2 separate regions of the Homo sapiens genome follow, and region 1 is linked to region 2. The links are contacts of gene promoters, found by promoter capture Hi-C in blood cells and fetal thymus (Javierre and others, 2016). All regions are on one chromosome and are shown on one strand. The core of a region is centred on a gene start or on the middle of the fragment in contact, and the rest is flanking DNA. Distances in the headings are between cores, read along the strand shown. Region 1 holds the start of LOC105379413 (a long non-coding RNA gene). Region 2 holds the start of CD99 (CD99 molecule (Xg blood group)).

The links. Contacts are between HindIII fragments. The CHiCAGO score rates a contact against its expected background, and 5 or more counts as called.
Region 1: a fragment that was not itself captured here is called in contact with the fragment with the promoter of CD99 in region 2 in 1 of 17 cell types (neutrophils); the score reaches 5.2 in neutrophils.

The regions. Positions count from the first base shown.
Region 1 is chrX:1,768,296-1,771,064 of GRCh38, reverse strand. It overlaps LOC105379413 (a long non-coding RNA gene), which reads right to left and starts at 12. Exons shown (of 3, transcript XR_001755773.2): 1 at 1-12. The HindIII fragment of the contact is 8,292 bases long and covers 1-2,769 here.
Region 2 is chrX:2,689,983-2,692,682 of GRCh38, reverse strand. It overlaps CD99 (CD99 molecule (Xg blood group)), which reads right to left and starts at 1,388. Exons shown (of 10, transcript NM_002414.5): 1 at 1,256-1,388. The coding sequence starts at 1,322. The HindIII fragment of the contact is 9,076 bases long and covers 1-2,700 here.

The DNA.
Region 1 (2,769 bases), core at 235-2,734, 920 kb after region 2:
CCATCCTAGACAAGATGGTGAAACCCCATGTCTACTAAAAATACAAAAAAAAAAAAAAAAAAAAAAAATCAGCCGGCCGTGGTGGCATGCGCCTGTAGTCCCTGCTACTTGGGAGGCTGAGACAGGAGAATTGCTTGAATCTGAGAGACGGATGTTGCAGTGAGCCGAGATCGTGCCACTGAACTCCCAGCCTGGTGACAGAGCAAGACTCTGTCTCAAAGAAAAAAAAAAAGAAAGAGAGATTCCTCTCTGTGGGTATTCTATGCTTAATTCTCTCTTCTTCCAAGAGCACTAAAAACACAAGGAAGGTCATAGGAGAAACAGGCCACATCTCAGCACCCCAAAATCGATCCCACAGTTAGAGGGCATGCATTAGGATTCAGATGCTGTTGTAGAAAAATACCAACAACTGCGTGGCTTGAAACAGCAGACGTCTGTTCTCTCGAACTTCTGGAGGCCAACAGCTGAGATCAAGGTATCAGTAGGCTTGGTTCCTTCTGGAGGCTCAGAGGAGACATCAGGAAACTTACAAACATGGCAGAAGGCAAAGTGAGAACAAGTGTCTTACCTAGCCAGAGCAGGAGGAAGAGAGAAGACAGAAAAAGTGTTACACAGTTTTAAACAACCAGATCTCATGAGAACTCGGTTACTGTAGTACCAAGGGGGTAATGGTGCGAAACCATTCATGAAAACCATTCACGAGAACTCTGCCCCCGTCATCCAATCACCTTTCACCAGCCCCCCTGCTCATATCAATTATATGGTTGGCTCTGTGTCCCCACCCAAATCTCATCAGGAATTGTAATCTCACCCAAATCGGGAGAGATCCATTATACGTAATTGAAGTCACAATTGATATACACAACTAAAGTCTTAGTAGAAAGAAGAGCTCCACAAAAAAGACAGTTTTTTGAACTGGGGTCTTGTGTCTTCTCTGGCCGTAACTGGAGGTGGGATTGATGGAAGAGGATCATGCGTGAGGCGTTACTGACAGCTTTGAAGTTTTACATGTGGGTATGGGAAGCGGTTAATTCAGCATGCCTGGCGATATAGTTTGCATCTGTGCCCCCACCCAAATCTCATGTCAAATCCCCAGGTGTACAAGGAGGGAACTGGTGGGAGGTGACTGGATCAGGGAGGCAGTTTCCCCCATGCTGTTCTCATGATAGTGAGTGAATGCTCATGAGATATGATTTTGTTTTCTTTTTTTTTTGTTTTTTGTTTTTGAGATGGAGTTTCACTATTGTTGCCCAGGCTGGAGTGCAATGGCATGATCTTGGCTCACTGCAACCTCCGCCTCCCGGGTTCAAGCAATTCTCCTGCCTCAGCCTCCCAAGTAGCTGGGATTACAGGCATGAGCCACTGTGCCTGGCTAATTTTGTATTTTTAGTAGAGACAGTGTTTCTCCATGTAAGTCAGGTTGGTCTTGAACTCCTGACCTCAGGTGACCCACCCGCCTCAGCCTCCCAAAGGGCTGGGATTGCAGGCATGGGCCACCACGTGCCGGCCGATCTCATGATTTTATAAGTGTTTAGCTATTCCCCCCTCACTCTCTGTCTCTCCTACCAGCTTGTGAAGAAGTGCTTGCTTCCCCTTTGACTTCTGCCATGACTGTAAGTTTCCTGAGACTTTCCCAGCTATGTGGAAGTGTGAGTTGATTCAACCTCTTTCCTTAATAAATTACTCAGTCTCAGGTACTCAGGTATTTCTTATAGCAGCAAGAAATACCTGAGTCTCAGGTACTCAGGTATTTCTTATAGCAGCATAAAAACAGACAAACACATTTGGTTCATAGATGTGTCAGTCCAACCTCTGTCTCCATCTTCTCCTTTGTGTGTTCTCTTTTTTTCTTACAAGGGCTCCAGTCATTGGATTTAGGGCCCACTCTATTCCAGTGCAACCTCATCTTAACGACGTCCACGAAGACTTTATTTCCAAATAAGTTTCCCTTCTGAGGTTCTGGTGGACATAAACTTTGCAGAGACATACTTCAGCCCACTGCAGAAGACTTTTAAAAAAAAGGGTGGGGGAGGGGGGCTGGGCACAGTGGCTCACGCCTGTAGTCCCAGCACTTTGGGAGGCCAAGGAGGGTGGATCATGAGATCAAGAGATCCAGACCATCCTAGCCTACATTGTGAAACCCCGTCTCTACTAAAAATACAAAAATTAGCCGGGCGTGGTGGTGCACACCTGTAGTCTCAGCTACTTGGGAGGCTGAGGCAGGAGCATCACTTGAACCCGGTAGGCAGAGGTTGCAGTGAGCCAAGATCATGCCACTTCACTGCAGCCTGGGCGACAGAGCAAGAATCCATCTCAAAAAATAAAATAAAATAATAAAAATAGAAAATTTAGCCAGGTGTGGTGGTAAGCATCTGCAGTCAGGCCTATTTGGGAGGCTGAGATGGGAGGATTGCTTCAGGCTGGGGGCCAAGCCTACAGTGAGCCATGATGGCCCCACTGCACTACAGCCTGGGCCACAGAGACCCCACCTCTAGAGAGAAAGAGAGAGAGAATCTCCTTCATTTCAGCAGCATTGATATTGGTGGATGCGACACTCCAGGTGAAATAGGTCCCATTCTTTTCCTCCTTCCACTTCACTGCAGCCTGGGCCACAGACTGAGACCCCATCTCTAAAAATAAAAATAAACAAATAACAAATAAATGAATAGGCTGGGCGTGGTGGCTCACACCTATAATCCCAGCACTTTGGGAGGCCGAGGCAGGCAGATCACCTGCGGTCAGAAGTTTAAGACCAGCCTGGCCAACATG
Region 2 (2,700 bases), core at 139-2,638:
GCCCGCAAGAAGGACATTTAGGAAGAAAAGGGAGAAACAGGAAGCTCTGCTTGGAACCTCCCCTGCAGGCTGGAAAGTCCTCCAAGTTTTCCTCTACGGAGCAGGCTTCATTATCTCTAATCTCTACCAAGTGAAAGCACAATTTCTAGGATACCCGGGACCCCTTTAAAGAGGGTGTAAATCCATTAGCAACTCCTCCCTAAAAATAGAGACCCGGCCTAGTCACCGCAGCTCTAGGCTGAGCTAGATCCTATCAACACAAATCGGGCCTCCTCCGTCCTCCCCAGGGCCGGGCGTTCCCGCGTCTCCTTCCTAAATACGTCCAGCCCTGATAAGGCCCGTCCTGAAGTCCACACTGCCCGCAAGCCGGTCTACTTAAAAGCCTGCCCATACGAAGAGCAAAAAATGCACTGACCATTGAAAAAAGAATTTATAACATGAAAAAAGAATTTATAACATACCACATCCGGCAGGGTCTCCGTTTCCGTTTCAAAGGGAGGGAAACAGAAAAACATGATTAAAGTAATAATTAGAAATAGGCCCGGTTTAGGGCGTGGGAGGGTGACCGTGGCTCTTTCTTCCCTGCCCACTTTTTCTGTTTTCCGAATTCTCCACCGCCGCAGATGGACAATTTGGTAAGCACACGTTTCTTTCTGCGCCCCGTGTTGCTTGGCGCACAGCACGCGCTGAAATTCCCGGAGCCCGCATCCACAGAGTATTTTTGAACATTTTCAGGGCTCAAAGTTTTTTTCTAACTTTTCCTTCCCTTCCCCCCACCACCCGGGTCTCAGGCTCCTAGCGATTCCAAATTTAGGCCCGGGACGCAGGGCGTGGCTGTGACAGGCAACTCCAGGGCGGCCTCCGCGCGCGGCCTGAAGACGCAGGTCCCCAAACCCTGGGGGTAGATAACGGGGTGGGGTGAGGGGCTCATGCAAAGGGAGAGAGATCTGTAAGAAGGTCCCCTAGATTGGGAAAAATCGGACGCACCTCTCCCAAGGCCGCCCCACATGTAAGAGTTTGCAACTCCGACAACAAACGCTGACTTTTCTCTCTGGAACGGCTCCAGGAAAAGCGTTGGGGAGAAAGTGGGCGCCTCCTCCGGGCCTGGGCCCCCGTGGGCACAGCGCGTCCTGCCGGGCAGGGAGGAGGCTCCGGGTGTCCCCGCGGGGCGCCCCCAACGCCGCATCTCAAGCGGATCCCCAGTCCCGGCCCGCGCCCTCCGCGTCCCCCAACCCGGATCCCTCCGCTCGCTCACCCGGGGCGGCGACCAGAACACCCAGCAGGCCGAAGAGCAGCAGCGCCAGCGCAGCCCCGCGGGCCATGGTGCGCCCAGAGCGCGCAGGGACGGTCCCGGAGTGCAGGGCGTGGGCGAAGGCGGCAGGACAGATACTCCCCCACGGGCCGGGTGGGGCGAAGCCCGGGGACTCGAAGGGGGCGGGTGAGGGGAGCGGCCCTGCAAGCTCAGCGCCGGCTGCGCCCGCCCCGCCCCGGCCTCCACGCGCGCACAGAAGGGGCGGGAACGCCGGGCCCGGGGAGGAGACAGAGGGGGTAGGCGGGCGGGGGTGGCCCAGGCAGCGCCGAGGGGAGTACGGTACACGCCCCGCCCCTTCTCAGGAAACTGCCCACGCCCCCTCACCCACCCACAGGGCCGTAGCCAGGGCGGCGCCGACCCGAAGCAAAGTGAACTACAACGTTCTCGGGAAAGTGCGGGTCCCTCCCGGTTTACAGCCCTCTGAATGCACGCCCGAGGGCGGCCCTTAACTGTAGTGGCACAAAACTGCCGCCCTTCTTGGAAACATAGAGCCCCCTCTCCCCACTCGCCCCTGCAGCCACTTCTCCGCCCCTCACCCCCTGGTCTCCAGTGGGAGCAAAAAAACAAACTTTCCCAGCAGCTCCCCTGCTCGGGAAAGTGCGGGTCCCTCCCTGTCTACAGCCTCCTAAATGCACGCCTGCAACTGTAGCGACACGAAACTGCCGCCCTTCTTGGAAACGTGTAGCCCCCCTCCCCACTCGCCCCTGCAGCCCCTTCTCCGCCCCTAGCAGGGACCCTCCCCTGCTCTGCAGTGGGAGCAGAGGAAACTCCCGGCTCCCCTGCTGGGAAAAGTATGGGGGCCCCTCCCCGCTGCTCACCTCAGGGAGTTCCCCAAGGGGAGCAAAGTGCAATCCTCTCCCTGCTCAGGAAGCCTAGGCCCCCGCTCCACAGGCAACCCCCGTCCCAAGTCCTTTCTAGAGCGTCCGAGCGCGGGGTGCGCAGCCGGGAGGGTGGCGGACGAACCCTTTGCGCCGGACCAAGGACAACCCTTGGAGTAGCCTCTGCGCTGGGGCAGTTTCTCCCCAGAATCCCCAGGACAAGGTTGGGAGTGGGGACTCCTGGTCACGGGAGTTAGTGAGGGGCAATAGGGAACGAGGTGCCTTCTATCTGGGGCACCTGGGCCCTAGTCCTGGTCATGGGCGACTCGCCTTCCAGTGGGCTTTGAGTTTAGACACCCTCCCGCGCCACTGGCCACAGCTGCAGTGCAGTTGTCGCCCTTCCCACACTTAACAATGTTATCTGTTAACACCTAAGCCTAAAATTGTATCCATTTTCCCGCAGGGTAGTGGAACAACTTTGCAGCCTGACAAATAACCCTGAATATTCTTGCATTCCACACTTCAAACTGTCCACGAAAAGAGTCAAACTAGGCCGGGCGCGGTGGCTCA